Regions from separate parts of the Homo sapiens genome. Here region 1 is linked to region 2. Evidence: promoter capture Hi-C in 16 types of primary human blood cells and fetal thymus (Javierre and others, 2016). All regions are on one chromosome and are shown on one strand. Each heading gives the region's core, a stretch centred on a gene start or on the middle of the fragment in contact. The rest is flanking DNA. Distances are from core to core; before and after follow the strand shown.

Evidence for each region. Contacts are between HindIII fragments. The CHiCAGO score rates a contact against its expected background, and 5 or more counts as called.
Region 1: a fragment that was not itself captured here is called in contact with the fragment with the promoter of RPL27A in region 2 in 1 of 17 cell types (fetal thymus); the score reaches 9.1 in fetal thymus.

Annotation. Positions count from the first base shown.
Region 1 is chr11:44,059,157-44,065,826 of GRCh38, forward strand. ACCSL (1-aminocyclopropane-1-carboxylate synthase homolog (inactive) like) reads left to right here. Exons shown (of 14, transcript NM_001031854.2): 14 at 682-821. The coding sequence ends at 764. Among named protein-coding and RNA genes, the nearest start is that of ACCS, 3.8 kb to the right of the region's middle. The HindIII fragment of the contact is 1,793 bases long and covers 4,525-6,317 here.
Region 2 is chr11:8,678,816-8,684,041 of GRCh38, forward strand. It overlaps RPL27A (ribosomal protein L27a), which reads left to right and starts at 3,977. Exons shown (of 5, transcript NM_000990.5): 1 at 3,977-4,001; 2 at 4,387-4,450; 3 at 5,191-5,226. The coding sequence starts at 3,999. TRIM66 (tripartite motif containing 66) reads right to left here and starts at 3,850. Exons shown (of 25, transcript NM_001388022.1): 1 at 3,786-3,850; 2 at 1,086-1,248; 3 at 805-999. RefSeq lists enhancers at 3,407-4,606, 3,470-3,539, 3,740-3,929, 4,256-4,898 and a silencer at 4,050-4,249. The HindIII fragment of the contact is 2,972 bases long and covers 1,399-4,370 here.

The DNA.
Region 1 (6,670 bases), core at 4,171-6,670, about 35 Mb after region 2:
GCTTGAACCTGGGAGGTGGAGGTTGCAGTGAGCTGAGATTGCGCCACTGCACTCCAGCCTGGGCGACAGAGTGAGACTGTTTCAAGAAAACAAAAACAAACAAACAAAACCCGAAAAAAGTAGTACTCTGCCCTTGTGGGACTGGCAGCCTAGTAAGTGAGATGGATAGGCAGATGACCATGGAAGTCCCTGTATGCCATACTAGAGAGTTTAGATTCTCCTCTGAGGTTATAGAGAATAGGACATTCATGTGAACATTTATTTATTGCATTCCACTACATGCCAGATGCTGTTCTACCTGCTGGGAATATAGCAGTGAATTGTTCATTCTCATGAAGGTTTTTGTTACAGAATTCTTTTGAGCTAGCATAGAAGATAGGCTGAGTGAAGAGACACTAGAGGCAAATAGAAATCCTGATTAGGCCAAGGCCATAAGCCCGAGAGTACAGGCTTTGATACAAGACATTGAGATGTCTCGCAGGCTGACATAACAATGATATTCAAAAAGAAATCAGGGATGCAACATGTAGACTTGGAAATCCATCCCAAAGGTGGGAGGGCTGAAGTTCAGGATCCCTGAATGAGAGGCTTTTATGGTTGACCATGACCTGGGTATGTCTGGGACCCACCAGCAAACCTACTAAATCACTATTTCTCTCTGTCCCCATTTGAACCCTCTAGCTATGCGTCGGTTCTGTGATGTGCTGCAGGAGCAGAAGGAGGCTTTGATAGTGAAGCAGTTGGAGGATGCAATGAGGGAGTAGGCCGTCTGCCTCCCAACCAGCAGTTCCAGCCCATCACTTGCTCAGGGACCCCCTAATGTCAGCCTCTGGCCCAGAAGGCCAGGGTGTCTTTTTGTCAGTGTTGCGATGGAGAAAATGGTGGGCTCCTCCAGGAAGATCTCATCTTACCCGGTTGTCACCCTCCTTAAGCTGAGTGCCTGCTGTCTTTGGAAGCTTTCCATCTTTTTAGTCTTTGCTAGCCATTATATATGCAAAATGTTTTTATCGGGGTTGGGGTGGAAAGGCCTAGAGACACCTAGAGAAATAAAGGGAGTTCTCTGGGCCCCTATTTAGATGGTTTATTTTTATATTCAGTACCTAATAAATTCTATACTTTTAAATTCTAGGCCCATCTTATTTTCTTGCTTATATTCTTCATAATCATCTTTGGAAGCCAGATGATTTTCTGTCCTCCTTAATTTTTAAATTCTAAGGCAGGTTCTATGTAAAGAATACTGTCTAGAGCAGGCCAGAAAAAGAAAGAAGTCATCCTTAACTGATGGGCCATTTTCCAGGTGTTGGATGCAATGTTCTATAAGATTCTTATGAAATCACATCCACTTCCACATGACCTGCTAAGAGGCAGGTGGGAGTATAATTGCAGGTATTCCTGCTTCCAAATACTAGAGTTTGTTCCACTTTTACCTTCCCAAAAGGCTTTTAAAGTCTCTTGCTGGGTACGGTGGCTCATGCCTGTAATCCCAGCACTTTGGGAGGCTGAGGCCAGAGAATGGCTTGAGGCCAGGTGTTTGAGACCAGCCTGAGCAACCGAGACCCTGTCTCTACAAAAAATAAAATTAGCTGGGTGTGGTGATGTGTGCCTCTAGTCCCAGCTATTCAGGAGGCTGAGGTGGGAGGCTCGCTTAAATCTAGGAGACCAAGCCTGCAGTGAACCATATCGTGCCACTGCATTCCAGCCTGGTTATAGAGTAAGACCCTGTCTCTACAAAAAAGAAAAAAAAATCTGACAAGCTTGGTGTCTTAGTCCCTTCATAATATGAAAATATCACAAAGTGGATGGCTTAGAAACAAATCTTTCTCACAGTTCTGGAGGCTGGAAAGGCCGAGTTCAAGGCCCTGGGAGATTTGGCATCTGGTGAGGGTCCCATCTTCCCAGTGTCATCTCATGTGGCAGAAGAGGTGAGAGGTCTTCCTCTGCCTTCATGACCCAATCACTTTTCAAAGGGCTCACCTTCTAATACCATCACCTTGGGGGTTAGGATTTCAAATATGAATGTTGGGGGGACACATTCAGTTCGTAGCATCTGGGGTTGTCCATTTCCATTTCTAATGTTTTCAGCTGTTCAAATTAAGCCACCCATCAGTTTCTCTGCAAAGCCCTTGCATGTCAGAGCACTGATACTGTGAAGTGGGCAGAGAAGGGACTACTACGATTTTATGGATGAAGAAAGAGCTCACAGTACCAACTGGTGGCTTTAGTCGCTTGGGTTTGTGGCCGTACTTGCTCCGAATCCAAATTTGTTTATTCTTGTCAGTTTTCTTGTGTGTGTGTGTGTATGTGTGTGTTTTTGTTGTTGTTGTTGTTGTTGTTGTGAGACTGAGTCTCACTCTGTCGCCCAGGTTGGAGTGCAGTGTCACAATCTCGGCTCACTGCAACCTCTGCTGCTGGTTCAGCGATTCTCCTGCCTCTGCCTCCCAAGCAGCTGGGACTACAGGCACGTGCCACCTCGCCCAGCTAATTTTTATATCTTTAGTAGAGACAGGGTTTTACCATGTTGGCCAGGCTTGTCTCAAACGCCTGACCTCAAGTGATCCGCCTGCCTCGGCCTCCCAAAGTGCTGGGATTACAAGCTGAGCCACCGCTCCTGACCGATATAGCTCTTTTTAAAAAACCTCTAGTATAACGTTGAATAAAAGTGGTTGAGAGGACAGCCTGCCTTGTTCTCAGTCTTAGTAGCATTGAGTGCAATCTTCTGCTCTTGAGTATAACGTTACTGTATTTTTCATTCTGTCCCTTATCTAATAAAGAGTCCTTCTATTACTAGTTTGCTGGGAGTTTTACCATGTATGAGGGTTCAATGTTGTTAGATGTTTTTCATCTGCATTTATAGAGATATGATTTTTCTCTTGATTATCAATGTAGTAAGTTACATTGATTTCTTAATGTTAAAGCAACTTCACATTGCTGCAATAAACCCCATTTGGTCATGATGCATTGTCCTTTTATATACCATTGAGTTTGGTTTGCTATTTTAAGAAGTTTACATTCAAGAAGGACATCATTCTATAATTTTTTTTTTTGTAATGCATTGTTAGTTTCAGTATCATGATTAATACTGGTTTCATAGATGTTTGGGAAACTGTTCCTTCCTGAATTTTCTAGAAGTTTGTGTCCAAAAACTTCTTCAACCTTTAAATATTTGGTTGAATTCAGCTGTAAAACCATAAGGGCCTGGAGGTTTTTTTTTTCTTCTTTTTTTTTTTTTGTGGGACGGCTTTTACTTATAAATTCAATTTCTGTGACAGTTCGAGTTTTCTATTTCTTGTATCAGATTTGGTTATTTGTGCCTTTCAATAAAGTTTGTCTATTTCATCTAAGTTTAATTATTGACTTAAAATTGGTTATAAATATTCTGTTATCCTTTTAATACATTTAGGATCTTTAGTTGTATCTCCTTTTCCTTTCCTGATACTGAAATTGATACATGCAGGAGGGGGATTACGGGGAGGGTCTCCGGAGAATCTCCAACCCATCTGTGCACTGGGAGAACAAGATGGAGCCAAGGGAAGCTGTGGCCATGCTCAGCGGGGAGGAGCCTGGCCTCTTCAATTTCTGTGTGGTGGCCTGGGATTCAATGTGAGTTTGGAGGCCTGTTAGCAGGACCCCCTCTTGCTCTGCTGACAGTATTTTTCTTTTTTCCTTTTTGCCCAGTAAATTCCGTTCCCCTCACCCTTCAATGTGTCCATGTTCCTAATCCTTCCTGGTGGTGTGACAAGAACCCGGTTTTAGCTGAACTAAGGAGCAAAATTCTGCAACAAAATGAGTTTTTTTGATCAGTCAATCTAACTGTTTATCAACTGTATTGAACTTTTCAAAGAACCAACTTTCAGTTTCATTGATTTTTCTCGTTTCGCCTTCATTTCTGCTCTTATCTTTATTTCTTTCTATTTACTTTGGGTTTAATTTGCTCTTTTTTCTAGCTTATTAATGTGGAAGCTTAGATCATTTGTTTTAAGTTGGTTTCAAATATATGCATTACAAGCTATTCATTTCTCACTTAGCATTATTTTAGCTACATTCCATAAACTTTGATCTGCTGGTTTTTAATCATTCAAAATATTTTCTAATTTCCCTTGTGATTTCTTTTTTTAAATCAATGGTTTGCTTAGCATATGTAACTTAGTTTCCAAATATTTGGGGACTGTTCAGCTTTCTTTGTTAATGATTTCTACTTTAATTTCATTGTGACTAGAGAATGTACTCTATGGTTTCAATCCTTTGAAACTTATTAAGACAGTTTATGGCCAGATTTGTTTACAACATGTGGTCTATCTTAATGTTTCATTTGCACTTGAAAAGAAGTATATTCTGTGGTATTGGGGATGGTGTTCTATAAATGTCAATTAGATTAAATTTTTGTATAATGTCCAAAAGTTCTGATCCTTAGTGTCTTTTGATCCATTTGTTCTATCACCGAGAGAGTGGTATAAAATTTTCCAATTATTATGAACTTGTCTTTTCTCTTTTTCGTTCTGTCAGTTTCTGCTTCATGTATTTTGAAGCTTTGTTATTACGAGCATAAACTTTTAAGATTGTCACCCTGATAAATTAATCATTTTATTCTAAAATGCCCCATTTTATTTTTGTTAATTATTTTTGTCTTGAAGCCTACTATCAGATACCAATATGAACACATCAGCTTTTTTCATGATTATTATTTGCTTGTTTTTTTTCACATTTTTACCTTTGACCATTTGTTTTTGTATTTAAAGTGTGTCTCCTGCACACACCATATGCTTGATTCTTGCTGTTTTATCCAGTCTGATGATCTTTTAATTGATCTTTAGTCAATTCACATTTAATGTAACGTGTGTGTATGTCTTCCACTTAGGACAAGTGCCTGTGTTTGTTGTTTCGTGGGGTTAAATCCCCCTGCTGCATGTTTCCATGGTACCCAGTAAATAGTCTTTTTAAAATAGTCCCCACATTGTAAGTCGGCCTTCCCAATCAATCATGCAGGCTTTGGTTTGTCTTGCTCATCACCGTATCCTCGCATTTTACAGAGACCTGGCACATAACAGGCATTCACTGAGATGTGAATTACATAGAATTAAGATTTAAATAGAGGAAAATAATCGCTTCCTTATCTTACAGAAGAAAACAGTAAGGGCCAAAAAAGTCATGAGAGTTGCTCAAGGTCACAGTGTTAGCTAGTGCAAGGCAAAAGTGAAGACAAGAAGTGGAATGGCCAGAAGACAGCCATGTCTTCCCAGCCATACCTGTATTGAGAGATTCTGCTTATTTCCTTTCATGGGGAAAGAAGACTTTCCCATTCAAGGCACCTCAGAGACTGCAGCTCTACCTGGGACCTGGGTGCCCACTGTACCCATTGCCAGAATATGTAGAGCTTAGGGCAGAGTTTGAAAAATACTTTTGAAATTATATGTGTGTGTGTGTGTGTGTGTGTGTGTGTGTGTGTGTATGTAATTTTTTTTTTTTTTTTTTTTTTTTTTTAGATAGAGTCTCGCAAACACCCAGGTGGGAGTGCAGTGGCACGATCAAATTCACTGCAGCCTCTACCTTCTGGGCTCAAGTGATCCTCCCACCTCAGCCTCCCAAGTAGCTGAAACCACAGGCACATGTCATCAAGTCTGGCTAATTTACAAAAACATTTTGGCTGAGTGCAGTGGCTCACGCCTGCCATCCCAGCACTTGGGAGGCCGAGGCGGGCAGATCACGAGGTCAGGAGTTCAAGACCAGTCGGGACAATATGGTGAAACTCCATCTCTACTAAAAATACAAAAATTAGCCAGGCGTGGTGGTGCGTGCCTGTAGTCCCAGCTACTGGGGAGGCTGAGACAAAAGAATTGCTTGAACCCGGGAGGCGGAGGTTGCAGTGAGCAGAGATTGTGCCACTGCACTCCAGCCTGGATGACAGAGCGAGACTCCGTCTCAAAAAAACAAAAAAACATAAAAACCTTTTTTTGGTAGAGACACGGTCTCTCTATGTTGCCCAGGCTGGTTTCAAACTCCTGGGTTCAAGGGATGCTCCCACCTTGTCCTCTCAAAGTGTTGGCATTACAGGCGTGGGCCGCCACACCTAGCCAGAGTTCAACAAATATTGCAGGCACGTGTGGGAGACCAGGACATGCCTCCCCAAAACATGAAGGATTGTGCTAAAGACAAGCAGCAGCACATTCAGGAAAGCTCTCTACCCTGGCCCTATTTGCCTAAAAGTAGGACACAGGTTTACAAAGACAAAAGGTATCCTGTCCCTCTGTCTACCTAGGAGAACAAAGACAACTTTAGACCCCTATGGCCTGGAGATGGTACCAGAGGAATTTACATTAACAAGCTTGACTAACTGGCCTTTGTCTTTTTTTTTTTTTTTTTTTTTTGCCTTCTCACAAGTTGCCTCCTGGAGAGACTCAAAGCCCTATTTCTTTGTCTTGTAACTTAAAAAAATTACTGTTCTTTGTTGAAGATGCTATAAAAACTGGAATTCAAAGTCACCTCTTCCAGAACGACTCATTCCCTCCAGATTTCTCATGTATAAATGAAATACACATGTCAGTAAATTTCTGTCTGTTTTTCTCTTGTTAATTTGTCTTTTGTAACAGGAGTCTCCCCCAACTAAGAACCTATGAGGGCTACAGAAAATCCCCTACAAATGAAAGGGGCAGAAATGACAAACTGCGATGAAAGG
Region 2 (5,226 bases), core at 2,727-5,226:
GTGAGGAGAGAAAGGAAGAGGGATCACCAGGGCCTTCTTCAGGGTGATGATGTGTTCCCAAGGCCACCTGGAGAGAGGCCTGGGGCAGCAAAAAATCAGCACACTTGCCTGCCTCACCAGGCTGCTGTCTGGTATCATCTCTTCCGTTCATTTCTGAGGTATTTTCTGAGGCCCTCACACTCTGAGGAAGCCCAGATGCCTGAGATGTCACAAAGCCATGCTGTACTTCAGAAGAGATGTCACAGAGAAGGACACCCCTCAGGAGTCATGGCCAAAGGTCATGTCCCATGTGCCTAGCTGGGAGGGACAGGTCCCCTAATGCCAAATATCTGGCTGCTACTCCACTTTGCAGACAGAAAACTCAGCTTTGTCTGCTCTCTCAGACCTCTGTCAACCTAGGAAAAGTGACACACACTGAACAAACACCACATGAGCTGTGTGTTTAAGTCATGTGGTTGCCTTTTGAAGGAGAGGGAGCTGGATAGAAAACTGGATTGAGCCAGACAACTACCCAGGGTACTCCCTCTACAACCAGATCAAGCCATTGATGAGAAGAATGTTAGGTGAACACAGAACCCAACGGGTAGTGCTGGGTCCACTCTGGGAGGCCTTCTGTTCAGCCGCGTGACCTGAGGGACAGAACGTAGCTCCTCTATAACCAAGGAACCTGGCAAACTATCCAAGAGGAGTGTCTTAGCACCCAGAACCCTACCTCAACCCCTTGCAGTGGTGGTCCTTATTGTAGGCCCCAGCTCTAATACCACTGATGGTTCCCTTTCATTCCCAAGGCCCTGCCCAGCTTACCTCCATTGACAGATCATCTTCCCAAGGTTAGGTTCCAGGTAACCCAGCTCATTTCTTGTGCACTTACTGGCCAGTTTTGATGTCAAATAGACGACGATGTCTTCTTTGATCTCCCCTCCTATTCTCAAGACCCCTCTTCCTGCTGGTCACATGCAGTATGTGATTAAGGTTGATGGAGGGATGAAGACCATAATGCTGTAAGGTCAGAGAGGGACTGGTCACTGAGGTAAAAGCAGGGGATCTGGAGAGAGAAGACTAAAGGCTAGGCCCAGGCTCTGTACCTGACCACCTATGCAGCGTCTGACAAGTCACCCAATTCTTCTGTGCTTCAGTTTTCACACACGTAAAATGAGGCTGGTAGTGCTGTACCTTCAGGCAGATGTATTTTGTAAATTGCCAAGTGCTCTGAAAATGTTGGTTGTTATCCTTGTGGACTGAAGTGTTCTGGGAAGAAGCAGAATATAAAGTTGGCCTTAAAGGTTGAGGAAGATTCAGGACATGTGGTCAGGAAGAGGATGGGCACTCCGGGATGGGAAACAGCATGAGCAAAGGCAAAAATGCAAATGGGATATACCAGGCACGGCTGCAGTAGAAAGCTTGTGTAAGGGAGAGGCTGGGGTAAGGCTGGAAAGGCAAGTGGGCTATATTCTGTTGGTCATAAGGAGCTACCGAACTTTTTGATCAAGTAAAAGAATGAAAGTCATGTTTTCGGAATACTAACGTGGTGGAGGTGTGAAGGATACAGAAATTGGAGGAGGGTTAGAATGCAGGCAGAGTGAACAAAGGAAGGTGTTGTAAACTCCAGTTAAGAGATATGATGGGGGCCTGAATGAAGGCAGGGCACTAAGGCTTAAACAGAGGAAGCACATTGGGGAGATACAGAAACAAAAGGATAGGGTGACAGTGTAGTAGAAGAAGAGAAGGCTTGGGGACAATTTTCATTATCTAGGTGGACAATGGTGCCACTCACCAAGACAGAGAATAAAGGAGAAGGCACCAGTGAGCAGTGCAGATTGAGTTCTTTGGATATGTTTACTTTGTCTGTAGAATGTCCAAGGAATACTAACCAGTAATTAAGTGACCATATGGGTGTGGAGCTCAGCAATAAGGATGTGAATTGAAGCCACCCAAGAAGACCATGTACTGTGAAAAGATAAGGACAAGGACAGAAGGCTGAGGAACATCAACATTCAAATGGTGGACAACGCTGGATGGAAGAACCTGAAAAGAAGACTGAAAAGTGACCAAAGAGTAGGAGGAAGGCAAGACTTTTTCTAGAAAAAGACGCCAACAGATTAAAGTACAACAGAAAGAACAAGTGATATGAAGAATAGGAAGAGTCCAATTTGGCAATTCGTTCATTAATGACATTAGTAAGAGCAATTTCACTGAAGTCACAGGCTGTGAGCTAGACCGCAGTGAACAATGGATGGGAAGGTGCAAATGGGCAGGATTTGTAGACTACTCTTTTGGGGAGCTTGGCTGTAAGGGCAAGGACATGGGAGAATTTTGGAATTTTTTTTTTTTTTTTTGAGACGGAGTCTCGTTCTGTCGCCCAGGCTGCAGTGCAGTGGCGCGATCTCGGTTCACTACAAGCTCCGCCTCCCGGGTTCACGCCATTCTCCTGCCTCAGCCTCCCGAGTAGCTGGGACTACAGGCGCCCACCACCACGCCCATCTAATTTTTTGTATTTTTAGTAGAGACGGGGTTTCACCGTGTTAGCCAGGATGGTCTCGATCTCCTGACCTCGTGATCCGCCCGCCTCGGCCTTCCAAAGTGCTGGGATTACAGAAGTAAGCCACCACGCCCGGCCAGAATTTTGGATATTTTAGCTAAAATATATTTTAGCTGAAGGGGGCAAGACAAAGAAAAATAAATAAATACACGCTCACACATACACACAGAGAATAACTGAGGGGATGGGATTTTAAAAATTTATTTCATTTTTCCCATGGGATCTATTAATAGACTAGCGAGGGGATGGGATCTTGAACACTGGTTGAAGGAACCGACTTAAGAGCGAAGACATGCTGCTATTAGCGAAGACAGGGAGGTGAGGGTAAGTTCATTTATTCACTCAACAATCACTAGTTGAGTGTGGATTAAAAAAAACAGTCCTTGACCACATAAGGAATTAGGTCTAGTAGGGAAGACAAACGTAGGTCAATAAATTACATAAGGGTTATACTAGATTGTGTGGTGGTACAGGTGGGGAAGCGAGCAACTGTCTGCATTGTGTCCAGGAAAGGGTCACAGGCGTGTTATGTAGATTCTGGAGAAAATTCAAAAATAGCATTTATTTTTACTTATTTACTTTTGTATGTGGAGACGAGGGTCTCACTATGTTGCCCAGGCTGGTGTTGAACTACTCGCCTCAAGAAATCCTCCCGCCTCGACCTCCCAAAGTGTTGGGACTACAGGTGTGAGCCACCGCGCCTGGCCTAAATGTGGCATTTAGAAAAAGTATTTACAACATCTGCATTAAAAGGACCATAAAGCAACCAGGCATCTAAGTCCCTGAAGCAATTTAAGTTGCTCAAACTTGAGAGGACAACCAAATGATAGCAAAAGGGCAAAAGAGAAAGGAAGCTGCAGTGCCCACTCAGAAGTGTGAGAGCGGGAGAAGGCATTTCGGGAGCCGCCCGAGCTTCAGGAAACCGAGCGAGACACCAGGTGGGCACACTGAGGATTAAAGAGGGCCTCGCGGTTCCGCACTGCGGCCGGGAGACAAACCAGTAGCCACTATCACCAGCCCCGGGCAGACCACTAAGAACTGTGGAGGTGCGCGGGGCGGCTCAGGGCTGGCGCATTTGGTGAGGAGCTCAGACAACGAGGCCCTTAGGGTCGGCTTAGGCGGTTCCCTGACCAAGGCGCCAGAAAAGGGCCTGGCTCAAGCAAGCACGGGCGGCGTGCAGTACAGCACACCTAGCCCCGATTCTTCAACAGTTCTCGCCCTCCGAGCCTAGCACAACGAGCCTCACCGAAACCGTACACCGCCACCAGGACACTCCGTGATGGGGGATCACCACCCTCAGAAAGAGGAAGCGACTAGCAGGCGCGCAATCCCGCGAGACCAGGAGGCCCCGCCCGAAGCCCGGCCTCTGTGACCGGAAGTGAGGCGTTTTGCCCCGCCCCCGTGGCCGATACCTCGCGAGACTTGGCGAAGGCCTTCCTTTTTCGTCTGGGCTGCCAACATGGTAGGTGTTTCGTTTCTTGCCTCCTCTTCCTTGCCGGCGGAGACCCCTAAGCTGTATTCCCATTGCCCCTAGTCATCCACTCCCTACCATGGTCGGGGCTTCCAGGCTGCGCATGGCCGCCTGCGGGGCAGGGTGGCCGGCGCGGGCCCGGGGCGGGGCTCCCGGAGCCGTGTGTTAGGCCCGCGGTTCGGATCTCTAGGACACGCGGGCCCCTGCGCTACCGTGGTGAGACCTCACGGCCCTGAGCGGATCGGTACCCTCAGCTTTCCCAAACGCTCCAGAAGTTAGGTCTTTGACCCACAGGCTTACAGGACCATCTCGGCTGGCGGGCATCGCCCCCTGCCCCTAATTCCTTAGGCCTTACCACCAAGCTTTTTCCACACAGCCATCCAGACTGAGGAAGACCCGGAAACTTAGGGGCCACGTGAGCCACGGCCACGGCCGCATAGGTAAGTGCCGGCTTCCCCTCGGGGTGGGCCTTGGGCTCTCTTCGGGTGCTTAGCTAGTCTGGAGATCGGTAGCCTATAAGTGGGTTAGAATAAGACCTTTTTGTGGTCAAGTTGCACAGCTGTTGATTTTTTTCTGACGATCCTCTAGTATTCCAGTTCTAAGGAATTTCACATCAGTGGGGTAATAGGAATTGAGCAGGCACGGTATTGGGTTAGTTGAAGACATGGAGTACTGTGGGAATGCTGTGATGTGGAACCTGAAAAGATGTTTCACCCGGAATCCTAAAGTAATCGCATTGCTGAAAACCGGCATCGGTAGGGTGGGAACAGCGTAAGCGGGACACAGAAGTCTGGGAAACACTCTGCTTTTGTGCGAGGAAGTATTGAGATGCATGAGAAGGCTGTGTGGTGCATGTAGCTTTTTTGTGTGTGTGTGAGACTGATCACTGTCGCCCAGGCTGGAGTGCAGTGGCGAAATCTCGGCTCACTGCAACCCCTGCCTGCCGGGCTCAAGCGATTCTCCTGCCTCAGCCTCCCGAGTAGCTGATATTACAGGTGTGCGCCACGACGCCCGGCTAATTCTTTTTCTATTTTTAGTAGAGTCGGGGGTTTCTCCGTGTTGGCCAGGCTGGTCTCGAACTCCTGACCTCAGGTGATCTACCCCCCCTCGTCCTCCTAAAATGCTGGGATTACAGGCATGAGCCATCACACCGGCCCCACGTAGCTTTGTATTCCTGCAGGCAAGCACCGGAAGCACCCCGGCGGCCGCGGTAATG